3 separate regions of the Homo sapiens genome follow, and all the other regions are linked to region 1. Evidence: promoter capture Hi-C in human tissues and cell types (Jung and others, 2019). All regions are on one chromosome and are shown on one strand. The core of a region is centred on a gene start or on the middle of the fragment in contact, and the rest is flanking DNA. Distances in the headings are between cores, read along the strand shown.

What was found. Contacts are between HindIII fragments. The study calls those that stand out against the background at their distance.
Region 2: a fragment that was not itself captured here is called in contact with the fragment with the promoter of PPM1D in region 1 in 1 of the 25 tissues and cell types used here (IMR-90 fibroblasts).
Region 3: a contact is called between a fragment that was not itself captured here and the fragment with the promoter of PPM1D in region 1, in 1 of the 25 tissues and cell types used here (dorsolateral prefrontal cortex).

The regions. Positions count from the first base shown.
Region 1 is chr17:60,597,266-60,602,349 of GRCh38, reverse strand. PPM1D (protein phosphatase, Mg2+/Mn2+ dependent 1D) reads right to left here and starts at 2,157. Exons shown (of 6, transcript NM_003620.4): 1 at 1,464-2,157. The coding sequence starts at 1,935. RefSeq lists enhancers at 2,038-2,087, 1,248-2,235, 2,236-3,224. The HindIII fragment of the contact is 15,450 bases long and covers 1-5,084 here.
Region 2 is chr17:60,186,520-60,191,603 of GRCh38, reverse strand. It overlaps USP32 (ubiquitin specific peptidase 32), which reads left to right. Exons shown (of 34, transcript NM_032582.4): 29 at 921-1,041. Among named protein-coding and RNA genes, the nearest start is that of CA4, 39 kb to the right of the region's middle. The HindIII fragment of the contact is 9,453 bases long and covers 1-5,084 here.
Region 3 is chr17:60,228,351-60,233,434 of GRCh38, reverse strand. All of the region lies in intron 12 of USP32 (ubiquitin specific peptidase 32), which reads left to right. It also overlaps SCARNA20. Among named protein-coding and RNA genes, the nearest start is that of CA4, 81 kb to the right of the region's middle. The HindIII fragment of the contact is 6,309 bases long and covers 1-5,084 here.

The DNA.
Region 1 (5,084 bases), core at 908-3,407:
TACTCCAAGTATACTGCAAAATAAACAGCACTCTAAATAGTTCTGTGCCTAGTCTTCCTCTCTTGTGCTGCTGTCGACTTCTCGTTGCCCTGCAGTCAATGATATCACATATTTCTACAATACACTACAGTGCTTTCAGCTCTACGGTGCCTACACAAAAACAAAATAAATCCATAAAGAGGGGCCCCTGGGATGGATGGGAAACGCCTCCAACAAGCCTAGTGGCTGGTTTTTGAGTCAATCAACTAACTCTTGGCAGAAAGCCAAGCAAATGGAAAACAGACTTTGAAACCGGCTAATCTACAACTCTATGACAATACCTTTCTAAAAATGTTCTGTATTTGCTAAATCTAACTCTTTTCTCTATGTCTCTATCCCTCTGCTGAAAATAAAGCAACGTTATTATGCTGCCATAAACAAGGTTTTTTCCCACCACTGGAAGTATTGTCTTCTTTGCTCTAACAAAGATGCATGCCATTTATTCACTGCAATAGATAAGCAATTATAATGCTGTAAGATGATTCTGTAAATGTTGGGCACAGAAATCCTGCCTGCTTTACAAACATTTAAAAAAACTTAGATGAAACTACAACTACACCGAAATTTTTAGACATTTAAGACCTTTATTTCCTTCTAGCATACAGTAATTCCTTGCCTTTTCTTATTTTGATGGGCAGTTACAATTTATAAGTACTTTTTAAACTAGGAACAACCGGTTGGGAACTATCTGAAAGCAATCAGCTAAGGCAATTTCCAAAAAGAAAACCCAAGCAGAATCTAACGCACACCCTTAACACGGGGCCAGTTTTTAAGAGGTAACAACACGTTCCGCGTTTTTAGTTTTCATAAGCAGTACAGGTTTATGATCCTAAAAACATCTCACCATCATTACAACGGAATTCCTTCCAAAACTTTAAGTTGCCGGATGGTTACGTTTCAGCCCTTCTAAATTAGCTTACGCTTTACTCCAGCAACCAACCCCAGCAATCCCGGGTCAATCTGGAGAACTGACACCACCGGTAGGAGGCAACCGAGAGGGATAAGACTTTCAGGAGCAGAATTATGACAGATTCTCTAAGGAAACACTACAGTTTTTCCTTCGCCTGGCCCAGGTGCAACATCGATTTATCTTTTGGCCAAAATCTGGCGCCAGGTTTCAAACACGTTTCCTCTGGTTGCCACCAAAGTGAAGCAGGGAAGGGAGTGGACTGCTTCCCATTGATCCTTGGAGGATGGAAATAAAGCAAGAATAGGCTGCAGGGAGACGGCAATCCTATCTTCCCCAAGGCCGCTTGGTTTGCCCGGACCTCCACCCAGCAAAGCGCTATTACAGCTTTTAGTCACTTCCATCAGTGTATACTTTGGTTGCGCTCTGGGTGCCGGGGGCCCACGCGGGGCTGGTGCCATAAAAGCCCTGAACTGCCTGAAAAAGGGGCGGGCGCCAAACAAGCCAGGGAACTTACCCAGTTTCTTCCACATGGCAAGGTGACAAGCGAGAAAGCCTTTGCGGATGGCAGCGCAAACCTTAGCCGGCTCGGACGAGGTGAAACCCTTCTGCTTCTTGATGAAACCCCACAAGTGCTCCCGGGCAAACTGTGCCGCCTCCCGCCCGCCGTGCCCGTCGCACACGGCGAAAAAGGCCACGGAGGAACGGCGGCGGCAGCAGCGGCTAGGTGCCGGCGAGGCCCCGGCGTCCGGGAGAGGGTCGCGAGCCTCTCGGGCTGCCACCGCTGGGCCTTTCCCCGAGACTTCGCCGCCGGGAAGGGCGGCCGGCGACGGCCGCGGAGGCAACGGCTGAGACAGCGACCGCCGCGGCGAGGGCTTTTCTTCAGCCGTCGGTTCGGGCTCCACAACGATTTGAGTAACGTCCTCCATGTACTTCCTCCCGCCCTGGTCGGAGAAGACGCTCACTCCCAGCGAGTACAGCCCCGCCATGGCCGGCTGGCCGGGATCCCGCCGGTCCCACGCAGCCCGCCGAATCCGGCGGCGGGAGACACACTAGGCGCTCGCCGGCCAACTATTGTTTATCTTCGACGACGCCGAGAAGGGGGAGGGGGCGGACCCGGAGAAGGGGGGGCGCGCGATGTCTGGACTTGTCCGCGAGAGCTGGGCCGGAGCGCCGGAGCGAGCAGAGCCAGGCAGTTGCGCCTGCGCACTGCGCTTCCCCCCACCGCCCGCGCCCACCACACAAATCAGGCGTTCTCCCCCGCTGACGTCACTCGGCTCTCTAAGCTCGACCAATCCGGAGTCGAGTGGAGCGAGCCCGCCCTCCGTCCCCGCCTTCGCTCCCGCCTGCGACGGCCGCGCTGCCTCCTCCCGCCGCTGGCGCTGGGCCCGCGCATCTCCTAGTTTGCTTCCCCTACGCCGCGGGCGTTTTCGCCCTCCGGGTTGTCGGCAGTTGTTGATCCTTTCCCGAGCGGCTTGGTCTGTGTAGGCTTTTGGCTCAGTCCAGCGTTCTTAATGCGGCCTGCTGGCCTTGGCGTCCCGCTGCTTGCTTTGCTAGGAAGGTGGTGTGGGCTCGGGCCCCCAGCGAGTGGAGAATGAAGGGAGAAGAGTTCACCCTCCTCCTAAGCGAAATGGCGGGAAACCTCCCTTCCAAAGGGCGATTGTGAGCTGGCCGGAACAAGTGCTGCACCCTTGAGCTGGATCTGGGTGGGACGTATTCGACTGGGAATGGAGGAGGGAGGGAGTCCAGTTCTGTTGTTTAAAAAGCACTTAGGAAATTTCCACCGTCAGCTGCACAGTCTCGGTTCACATAACTAGGTATGTCAGAGACGTAAGAGGGCTGTATTCTAACGAATTCCTAGGCAGATCTTTTCAGCTTTTGTTAAAGGTAGTGCTCGTTCCGACCAGCTCTGGATACAGCATTTTATTCCTGCGGTATCACTTCAAGTTATCACTTGAAAATAACTGACAAACACTGCCAAGAGCCCCAGTGCTCTAACGGTTTGGTGATCGTCCCCTCTCTTCACCGAGTCGGTCACAATCCCAACGCTAAAACCTTTGCACGGATTTTCATGGAGTTAAGCCGCAGAGCGAGGAATACACTAGTATTTGCTCAGTAGCATACGTTTTGTAGTTGAATCACTTTAAAGTTCACTTTTCCCGTTTTTGGCCATTTCTTCATCAATCTGTACTTTCCTGTAAAACCTTTGAGATTTTCAAATGGCCTAAAAACAGTATGGAAACGGGAATGGGGGGAATGTACATACAGTTGGCACAAGAAATAAAAATAGAAAAAATCTTTATATCAATAAAAATATAAATAAGCAAAATCAGCTCAAGAAAATGTAGAAAATCTGAATAGATCAACTAAGTAAAAATAAATACAATTGAAGATATTCATTACCCCAAAAAGCACTAGACCAGATGGTTCCAGGGCATGGAAACGCTTGAAAAAAAAAATCCCAGCTTGTTTGGAGAGGTAATCATAACCCTGTTAGTAAAACCTAAGCATTATGAACACTAAAAGGAAACCTACAGACCCTGTTTTGTAACGATGAATACAAAAATCCTAAATGAAATATTAGCATTGTAATTAGGGAGCAGCCTCCATATCACAAGAACGGTTTGTGTAGCTCTATATTATTCATCTTACCGTTCACCACGTTTGACCCAAGAGATTACCAAAAGATAATTCCATCATGCTTTATAATCCTTTCCACCTCAATCACAACCAGTAGGATCTGCGTCATCCGTTTATTGCTCTAGTATCTCCATGCTACTCTCTGCTTCAATTACTCTGATTCCATATCCCACTCTTCACCAAATATCCTAACCATTTCACTTCACACTTTTGATTTCAACATCTGCCATCAACCACTTCCCCTTTATTCTTAGCCTCTTCTGTAAATGTTCCCATCAACTTCCCATTCCAACTGAAACCCGGTTTATCACTTAGCAAAACTACCTCCCTTGCAACTTTTCAAGTACAGGAGGTTATTTTTCCTCTCATAGGTATTCTTATCTGTGGCCTATTCCTCATATTACCTCCAAACCACTTCTCTTCCTTCCTCCCTCAGAAACTCAAGTGCTTTTAAAATTTATGCAGACTGCTGCTACTCTGAGATGCTGTCAGCTACTGATCCCTGGTATCTCCCCATCATTTTTCATAGCCCACCGTCTTTGTTTCTTCCACTATTCGTGTCACTTCTCATCCACTTTATTTTTCAAGATACTATCCATATCTTCCATACTGTCTCCTTTTCAAGAGTTTTACTGCTCCAACAATTATCCTCCTTGCTCCTGCCTCATCAATCTCTCCTTTCTCTCTGTCTTTCTAAATGTTAAAGACGGGGTCTATGATGCCCAGGCTGGGGTGCAGTGATTATTCACAGGCGCAATTATAGCTCACTGCAGCCTCAAACTCCTGACCTCAAGTGATCCTCCAACTTTAGCCCCCAAGTAGCTGAGATTAAGGCACATGTCACCACACCCAGACTAATTTCTCCTCTTCTGGGTCATTTCCATTTGTGTATAAATATGTTCTGTTTTTTTTCTTTTTTTTGAGACAGAGTCTCCCTCCATCACCCAGGCTGGAGTGCAGTGACGTGATCTCGGCTCACTAGCAACCTCTGCCTCCTGGGATCAAGGAATTCTCGTGCCTCGGCCTCCCTAGTAGCTGGGACTACAGGTGTGAGCCACCATATCTGGCCACTATTACCTCTTACCTGGACCACTACACTCGCCTCCTCACAAATCTTTCTTTCACTCTTGGCCCTCTGCTATCCTTTTTCCGCTAGGTACTATAGCGATCTTTCAAAAACCATGAATCAGATCAAGTCATTCTTTTACTCAATACATGGCTTCCATCACATTTAATATAATGTAGGCCAGGCACAGTGGCTCACACCTGTTATTCCAGCACTTTGGGAGGCCAACGCGGGCAGATCACTTAAGGCCAGGAGTGGAGACCAGCCTGGCCAACATGGCAAAACACTGTCACTTCTAAAAATACAAAAATTAGCCAGTCATGGTGGCGTGCACTTGTAGTTCCAGCTACTAGGGGGAGAGGCTGAGGCAGGAGAATCACCTGAACCTGGGAGGCAGAGGCTGCAGTGAGCTCAGATCACACCACTACCTTG
Region 2 (5,084 bases), core at 1,188-3,687, 410 kb after region 1:
CGGGAGGCGGAGCTTGCAGTGAGCTCAGATCGCACCACTGCACTCCAGCCTGGGCGACAGAGCAAGGCTCCATCTCAAGAAAAATAATAATAATAATAAAGTAGGCATTGGAACCATGACTTTATTATATCCTCCCCCCTACCCCATCTCCCACCCCACCTCTGCAACTCTATAAACTTTTTTTTTTTTTTTTTTTTTTTTTTAAACAGAGTCTCACTCTGTCACCCAGGCTGCAGTGCAGTGGTGCAACCTCGGCTCACTGCAACCTCCACCTCCCAGGTTCAAGCAATTCTCCCACCTCAGCCTCCCAAGTAGCTGGGATTATAGGTGCCTGCCACCATGCCTGGCTAATTTTTGTAGTTTTAGTAGAGACAGGGTTTCACCATGTTGGTCAGACTGGTCTCGACCTCCTGACCTCAGGTGATCCACCCACCTCGGCCTCCCAAAGTGCTGGGATTACAGGCATGAGCCACCATGCCCGGCCCCTGTAAACTTTTATATGCATTTATTTAATCTGCCATTTTACAGACAAGGAGCTAGGTGTTACACCAGATAAATTGTCCTACCTCAGAGCATTCAATAACTGAATTTGGAATTTCTTGAGTGCTGTAGTATCTCAAACAGGCAATTCCCATGTCATTTATTTGCCATAAAGTTCACATCTTCCTGTGATTAACAGGTGGTTATCAAGTACTTTGTAAAAATAAAGACTTGAAAAATGAAAAGCATGATTCCCTGAAACTGTACTAATTATTAATAAGTATCCCTACATTTATCAGAGTCTGAAGTTAGAAGCCCATGACAAATTGTGAGGCCCAAGAGGAAAGCAGAAAAGTAGGAAGGGAGAATATTTTTTATTAAGAAAATTTAGATTCCTTCATAATTATTTCTTCCTCTGTGGATCTTTTCCCCCTTTTTAGATTTTGCAGAGGCTGTAAAATTGATTGTGGGGAAGACAGAGCTTTCATTGGAAATGCCTATATCGCTGTGGATTGGGATCCCACAGCCCTTCACCTTCGCTATCAAACATCCCAGGAAAGGGTAAGTATTTAGGGCCACCATAAAATGGTGGTTTTTATATGAGAAATTTCCACCAGTGTAACTATTATGCCATTTCTGTTTTAGACAATTTAAAAACAACCAGAAAAACCTTCATTGGCATCCTCTATGGCACCTAATATATTGACATGTTTGCTTGAGCTTTTTCATTTTCCAACTTCTGGAGTTCATTGTATTGGGGCATTGTCTTTGTCCATTTTGTGTTGCTATAACAGAGTACGTGAGGCTGGTAACTTGTAAAGAAAAGAGGTTTATTTAGCTTACTGTTCGGCAGCCTGGGAAGTTCAAGGACATGGTCCTGGCTTCTGGCAAAGGCTTCTGTGCTGCATCATAACATGGCAGAGAAGATCAAAGGAGAACAGACACAGGCAAGAGGGAGGACCAAACAGGAGGAAGATCCTCGCTTTCTAACAGCCCGCTCTCTTGGAAACTAAGTTCTCAGAAGGAGAACTCAACTACTGCAAGAATGGCACCAACCATTTACAAGAGTTTCACCCCTATGACCCAAACACCTCCTGCTAGGCCCCACCTCCTAACAACGCCACATTGGGAATCAGATTTCAACATGCATTTTGATGGAGACAAATAAACCATGTCCAAACTATAGCAGGCATTAAATTTCAAAAATATTAATAAGTGAACCTTGAAACAAAACTGTGTCTGGCCATGACATATCAATAAGCATCTCTCTGTTAAATATTATTGAAGTTGCAGCATTTGGTAACCACAGTTACTTAGTTCAAATGTGTCCCAGGGCTATAGCTGCTGCCTTTAATAGGCAGAGTGATCAGAAAAGTTACAGAAAGGATTGAAATGTTTCCATTTTGGGTACCTAAGAGCACATCTCAGTGGCCACTCTTTGCACTTCACATTCTTCTATTGTCACTGTCTGGCCAGAGCAATTTTTAAATTTTGAAAATGTTGCTTCAGAAATAATTTTAACTCCATACCTAAAAATGTTTGCCTCAGGCAGTTTTTAATCAACCAAATATTATTTGAATGGTAAAGACATTAAGAATCTGATAGAGAGGTAAAAACAACAGAGTCAAAGGAGTTCCTTAAGTCACATGAGGAATTGTAGTGGTTTTTGCATTTTTATGGCTCTTGATAGTTGGAAATTTCCTTTACTATTTTTTAAAGCATTCCCTTTGGATAAGTTAGTAACGGTAACTGACTTTTCTGTCTTGTTGTGCTATGGAGGACTGGGGAAACTACCAATTCTAGACCTAGTTTCTTATTTAGATCCCAAAATATGCCGCACACACCAAGGCTCCTGGGAGCCCTTTCTAGCCAGAAATAAGTATAATTTGTGGATACTTGTCAAATGAAAGATCACTAGGCTAAAGCTAAAGAAAGCTGAAGAGAAACTAATGTTCTAGATCATGCTCACTAGCAAGGAGGGAAAATTTTACTAGTTGATAGATTCATAAATCTTTGTCAGCACAAAATCTGACAAGACATTACTGTCAATGATGACAAATTATTTGGCTCTATAAATCTCTTCCCCTTTTTAACAAATCCAGTGTGCAATCGGAAAAGCTCTTTAGGACATCCTGCTTATAGGAAACGGCCTACGTGACCTGTTAAATCTCACCCTACTTCCACTTTCAGTGATGCACTTAGGATACCATGGAAGTGAAGGGCTATTGATGCCTTGCTAGGGAGTGGGCCCATATGACTAATCTGGGCTCCCCTACATGTAGGGTTTCTGAATGTGCTTAGAAAGTCATGTAGACAAAAGAGATACCGTGGTTTAAATTGGGATTATTGCCCATATACTTTATATTTTTTATTCCAGTGATTTCCCTTTTAGGAATTTATCTGAGGGGAGAATACTCTGTAATTACTCCATAATTTGCAGGCAAATATCATCATAGCATTTTTTAGAATAGCAAAAAGTTATTAACAACTTATATTTGTCTCACATTAGAGGAATGGTTAAATAAAGCATGGTGTATTCATTGGATAAAATATAATGCGGTTGTTGAAAATGATTACCAGGAGTTTTTGCTAACATTTATGGGAACAAGCTTATGATATGTGAACATTTTTTAAAAAACAAGACATAAAGTTGCATATACTGGAAATAATACCTTCAATATTGAAAAAAATACTATTTAGGAAAGAGGACAGAAGAAAATCTGCCAATATTTTGACAGTGGTTGCCTTTGTATTAAGAATATAATTAAGAATATAAAAGGATTCCCTGCCTTTTAACATTTTTCTCTGCTTTCCAACATGAATATTATACCTAGTAATCAGAAAAAAAACAGAGGCAATCACTCTTATCCTTTACATTTCTCTCCTGTTGGGACCTCAGATTCCTCAGTAGAAAATTAAACTGGATGCCAGCCTGGGCAATATGATGTCACCCTGTCTTTACAAAAAATGCACAGATTAGCCAGGTGTGGTGGTGTGCACCTGTAGTCCCAGCTACTTGGGAGGCTGAGGTTGGAGGGCTGCTTGAACCCAAGAGATCAAGGCTGCAGTGAGCTGTGATCTCGCCAGTGCACTCCAGCCTGGGTAACAGAGCAAGAACCTGTCTCAAAAAAACAAAAAAAGAAAGAAAAAAAGAAAATTAAGCTAGACAAATTCTTAGGCCACTCTCTTTTTTTCAATAGTCTTCTATGAAAACTATTACTTCATTTCCTGTGTTTTGTGTTAAAGATGAGCTTTAAAGTAACTTTGAAAAAGAAGAGGGTGCCTATAAGTAATTTATAGATTATTTAAACAATAGTAGAGGATCTAAGCGTAGATCCCAAGAGGTAAAGGGAATCTTTATCACTTTGGGAAATTTACTGATAAATAGAAATTATTGTCAGTACAGTCCACAAATATGTTTTTTATCAGCCTTCTTTCCTGTCTTCATCTAGCACTGTAGCCTGTGTTCCACAGAAAATATAGTCAATAAAAATCAACATTCTTTACTAGCTTACTCTAATTTGTGGTTGGCCATAAAGTATTCCTGGTAGAGATAATAGAGATAATATTTAACTGGCTATGAGAAAGGAAACACTACCGTATATGATACACCCCTTTTTCTACTCATTCCAACAACGATGATGCAGCACGTTTCCTTTTGAAGCACATCAGTTTTTTCCTTGAGTGACCAGTTCAAAAGATGATGACAGTTAATATCTTGTTACTACAGAATTTGTACTCAAAAAAGAAGTCTATAACCCAAGTCCAAGCCAGATTTCCTTTTCTAAAAAAAGAATTTTCCTCTAAGTTCCCCTTTTTAAATGAGCTCTTTAGCCTGGATAGTTATGCAGTGCTAGAACCTTAATTGCACGATCAAATCCAGCCTTGCTAGTTTATAGCAGCATTTGAGAGCCTCGTGACTCTCATATAGGGAAGAAGTCTCACCTGAAAACCCATTCTAAACTGAATGTCTTGAGCTGTGCCAATTTGTATTGCAACAGCCTAATGTTCCCATCATGAGTTTCAGGAAGGGAAATTCATGGAGGAAGTTCACCTCTGGAAGGGAGGAGCAATAAATAGGGTGGGTGATGGACATATGTGACGTTTGCCACAGAGAGGCAGTCAGTGTGGGCCTTGTGGTCTGGGCTCTGCTTTGGGACACAAATATATACTGTGTGAAGTCTCATGATAGCATTCATAACCCTGATGCTTCACCCACCTTCCCATACATTAGAGGGACAAACAGAAGGATCCCGGCTCTATGATTCTTGATTGTTTGTCAGGTAGCAGCCAGGCATGGAGAGGAAAAAATTGTTTCTTTTCTGTTGCACTCTAGATCCTTCCTTCTCTCCGTCTTCTTCATTCTACACCACCCCCAACTTACATCCCTGCACCCCGCCCATTCTTTGCTCTCTGTCCTTTCTTATACTTAATTCCTCCTTGCTCCACAGCCTAACATGCTGATTAACAGGACCCCAAAGGTTTGGGTGAGTATTAGGGGCCTTCTCAGCAAAAGCAGCACACTCTTTTGAGCTTGCTCTTCCTTTTGTTGCCATCTCAGATAAAAAGGCCCCATGAGGGAGGAGACAGATAATTATAGACTT
Region 3 (5,084 bases), core at 1,558-4,057, 370 kb after region 1:
AGGCTGGAGTGTAGTGGCACAATCATAGCTCACTACAGCCTCAACCTCATGGACTGAGGCAATTCTCCCACCTCCTGAGTAGCTGAGACTCCAGGCATGCACTACCACACCTGGCTAATTTTTTGATTTTCTGTAGAGATGGGGTCTCACTATGCCTGCCAGGCTAGTCTCGAACTCCTGGGCTCAAGCGATTCTCCTGCCTTGGGCTCTCAGAGTGCTAGGATTACAGGCACCCAGACTCTTGTTAAGTATTTTAAAACAGTGTCTGGTACATAGTAAGTACTAAATAGGTAGCTATTATTATGAGAAACTTCAATAAGGTAATTGTAGTGAGCTTGGACTCTTGTCCCTTGCACTTGCTTTATGACCTTGAATAAATTACTACTTCTTGCTCTACCTCAGTTTTCACATATGAACAATGAGATTAATAGTAATATCTATTTAAGTAGGGATGTGAGAATTAAATGAGTTAATACATGTGAAGCACTTAGCCCAGTGCCTGGCAGATAGAAACTCTATATAAGGTTAAAGGTAATAATGGTGGTAGTAGTAGCAGTAGTTATATGAGGATTTAAATTTCTTCTTTCATGCCAGGCATGGTGGCTCACGCCTATTATCCCAGCACTTTGGGATGCCAAAGCAGGCAGATCACTTGAGGCTGGGAGTTCAGCACCAACCTGCCCAACCTGGAGAAAACCCGTCTCTACTAAAAATACAAAAATTAGCCGGGTATGGTGGTGTATGCCTGTAATCCCAGCTACTCAGGAGGCTGAGACACAAGAATAGCTCGAACCTAGGAGGCAGAGGTTGTAGAGAGCCAAGATGATGCCACTGCACTCCAGCCTGGGCAACAGAATGAGACTGTATTTAAAAAAAAAAAAAAAAAAATCAAATTTCTCTTTCCAGTCCATGTGGCCACTTTGACAAACGCCTTGTTTAAAAAAAAAAAAAAAAAAAATTTGGGCCAGGTGCAATGGCTCACACCTGCAATCCCAGCTCTTTGGGAGGCTGAGGCAGGCAGATCACTTGAGACCAGGAGTTCCAGACCAGCCTGGCCAACATGGTGAAACCCCGACTCTACTAAAAATATAAAAATTAGCCTGGCGTGGTGGCGTGTGCCTGCAGTTCCAGCTACTTGGGAGGCTGAGGCAGGAGAATCGCTTAAACCCAAGAAGCAGAGGTTGCAGTGAGCCGAGATCATGCCACTGCACACCATCCTGGATGACAGAGTGAGACTCCATCTCAAAAAAAAAAAAAAAAAAAAAAGAAAAAGAAAATTAGTGTTGACATGTCAGATAATTTGATCTTAGAGCTTCATCTGCCTACCTAAGAGAGTACTTAGCTTTAATTTTTTCTCTTCATAAAATGACATATTTACTTACGAATATTACTAATTGTGAGGGTAGTATGTTTCAAATACTGGCAAGACTAAATGGAAAGATCAGAGACCAAGGGATCAGGAAAAATGAGCCATCCTTTCTTAGAAGTGGCTAACCCCAGATTTGCTGATTCACTGGAGCATGAATAATTTGATTGTGTCTCTGCTCATGGAATCTTACCAGTCTTTCCCCGCTTTAATGTGTCAAGCTTTATTCTTCTATGTGTAATCTCCTAAAAAAATGTAAATGGGGAAGAATGGTGAAATCTTTTCTATCATTATTACATTACATAATGTGTATCTTCCTTTTTGAGAACTATGAAGGAGCAGCTATTACTATTCACATGCAGATTTTCCTATTTAGTTATCACGTAACTTTAGAGCTAGAAGATACTTTAAATCACCTTTCGTGCCTCTCTCCCATGGGCTTTGGGGGGTCCCTGTTCTCCTTAGCCAAGGCTGGAGGCCAAGAGCAGCCCTCGAGGATCGTCGTCAGGACTGCCACGAGTGGGGCAGCCTTGTTTTCCTGCCTCAGACATGTGTAGTTGAGTGGGAAATAAAAGGAATGAAACACCTCTCTTCTCTGAATTTACAAATGAAGCCTCTGAGGTCCTTAGGTTTTATAATTGCCCAAAGCTGTATCAGACAATTATTTTATTACTTTATCTAGCACTCTAGAGCTCAGTGTCCTGAGTCCTGCCTTAGTACCTAATCTGTTGCTCCATGCTGCCCTCTATTTTTCCAAAGCTAGCATTTCAGTCACTAGTGAAATATGAAATTGACATAACTGTTAATTGATTCTTGTAACATACCTATGTACAGGGCATAAAAAGTAGTAGTATCATCAATAGAGAAAAAGGTGAATCTTGACCCATATTTTAGAACACATAAACTATTTATACAACTCACAGGGAATCCTAAAATCTCAAAATAAAATTCTCTTATATTAAAATAAGTACCTAGTCCTTTTGTGAATTGTTGACTCAGAAAATGAGGACATTTCTCTCTACAGGTGAAACTTTACCTATTTAGAAATCTATCTTCTGAAAACCAGGGTTCTAGGATAATTTTGAATAGTTCCAGACCCCTGAAGTCAATAAAAACAAAACATGATCCTTTGATGTTTTAGAAAAACAAAAATTTCCGCAAGCAGCCAGAAATGAACAGTCAAAAAAAGCTAGTGACTCTAAGATTCTGCAATATATAACTGTGATTGGTTTGTTCATCTTATAGAAGGAAAGTGGTAATAAGATTAATCGGATGAAAAGGTAGCTATTTCACTGAAAGCCAAGAAGGGTAGAAGGAACAAGAAAAATAAGCGTGTAGGAAGGGGAAGAAGGAACCTGAGTTGTGCTGACAGTTTCAGGCAGTGGAGAACAGTGAGAGCATCAGGTTCCTGTAATAGAAAAGAAAGCCGAAGACAATGAGAAGACAGACCAGTCTAGTTTGTTTGGAGCATTGGAAGAGAAGCAAAGAAAAGCCCATATTCTCCAAGTCTAAAGGTTATTACTCACTGTACCATGTTAAAAGCATGTGGTAGAACCGCAGTTGCTAGAGGCAAATGTTGCAATCTCTGAGAAGTTATTAGAATCATCCTGTTCACAAATTATTATAAAATTTAGCCTAGCAAATTTAATGCCTGGTAATATTTTTATTATCCTGTTTTCTTGCCAGTGATATATATAGATTTAACCTATGGACTGAGCTCTTCAGAATGAGAAGCATTATTACAGGAATGGTTTCATTTACATTTTCTTTAGAAACATAGGCACCATGTAAGACTTTCAAACATGTTAAAACATTTAAGATACAATTCCAAATATTACTCCTTGAAATTCTCTTACATGCCCATCTTAGAGGAAAACTTGAAGAAAATTGTTTGCTCAAATAGACCCAATCTTCCTCAAAATATATTACTACAAATTTTTTAGAAAGTAATTTGTGGTCGGGCGCAGTGACTCACGCCTGTAACCCCAGCACTTTGGGAGGCCAAGGCAGGTGGATCACCTGAGGTCAGGGGTTCAAGACCAGCCTGGCCAACGTGGCGAAACCCTGTCTCCACCAGAAATACAAAAATTAGCCAGGCGCAGTGGTGCGTGCCTGTAATCCCAGCTACTCCGGAGGCTGAGGCAGGAGAATTGCTTGAACCCAGGAGGCAGAGGTTGCAGTGACCCAACATTGCACCACTGCACTCCAGCCTGGGCAACAAAGCGAGACTCTGTCTCAAAAAAAGAAGGAAAAAAAAAGTAATTTGTAATGCATCAACTTTATATAAATGGAATATAGAAGTGAGTATAAATTTATAAACGGATTACCTTGCCAAAAATGTGATGGTTATTGAAACATCATTTAAGATCACTTATAGCAAAACTAAAGTGATTTTTCTGGAGGAAAACAAAGTGACTTGGAAGACTTTAATTTTTCTCAAAGGTGGCGCTGTTACTCTTTCAAAATGGTTTTGCTGTCTGTCTTGCTCCATCTTTATGGGCAGGAAGCAAATGACCTGAAAACTAAATAAATCTAAATCTTCTTCTAAAACACAAGTTCCAGAGCAGGTAGCAGATTTAATAACAAGTCAATTTCTAAGCTCTTAACATCTGGAGCACATTATAAAAACAAATGCATGAGACTATAATCCTCACTAGGGCAATAGTTATTAATTCTGGCTGCATATGTAGTGAGATCACATAGAGAACTTTAAAAATGAAAAAATGCCTTTGGCCGGGTGACTCATGCCTGTAATCCTAGTACTTTGGGAGGCCAAGGCAGGAGGATTGTTTGGATCCTCCAGGAGTTTGAGACCAGTCTGGGTAACATATTGAGACCCCATCTCTATGAAAACTTTAAAAATTAGTTGGGCATGGTGATGCATGCCTGTGGTCCTAGCTGAGGTGGAAGGATCACTTGAGCTCAGGAGTTCAAGGGTATAGTGAGCTATAGGCGACTGAGCAAGACCCTGTATTAAAAAAAGAGCCTTTGCTATACTCCAGACTAAAAAAATCAAAAAGCATAAGTGAAAAAAAAAAGTTGAATTGATTTAAATAATAAGGCATTTATGTTTATGGAAAATTTTCTTTTGAAACCTAATTTAACCAGGTGAGGTGGCTCACACCTGTAATCCCACCACTTTGGGTGACTGAGGCAGGAGGATTACCTGAGGCTAGAGTTTGAGACCAGCCTGGGCAATACAGTAAGACTCCATTTCTACCAAAAAAAAAAACAAAAACAAAAAAAACAAAGAGTCTCGCTCTGTTGCTCTGGCTGGAGTGCAGTGGCATGATCTCAACTCACTTCAACCTCCACCCCCTGGGTTGAGGCCATCCTCCCACCTCAGCCTCTCAAGTTACTGGGGACTAAAGGTGCACACCACCATGCCCCACTATTTTTTTTTAATATTTTTTTGTAAAGACGGGATCTATCCACGTTGCTCGGGCTGGTCTCCAACTCTCCTGAGCTCAAGTGATCCAGCCACCTTGGCTCCCAAAGTGCAGGGATTACAGACATGAGCCACCATCCCTGGCCAAAACTTGTTTTAATTAAAAAAAAAAAAAAAAAGAAAAAGAAAAAAGAAACCTAATTTAAATGTCATGTATTTTGTGTTGGTATGAATTCCATATTAGAAAAGCTGTGAGAAGCTTGATATTATCTTTAAGAAAATTAACACTTAGGACTAATTTATACTTCTTTTTTGACATAGATCATTTTG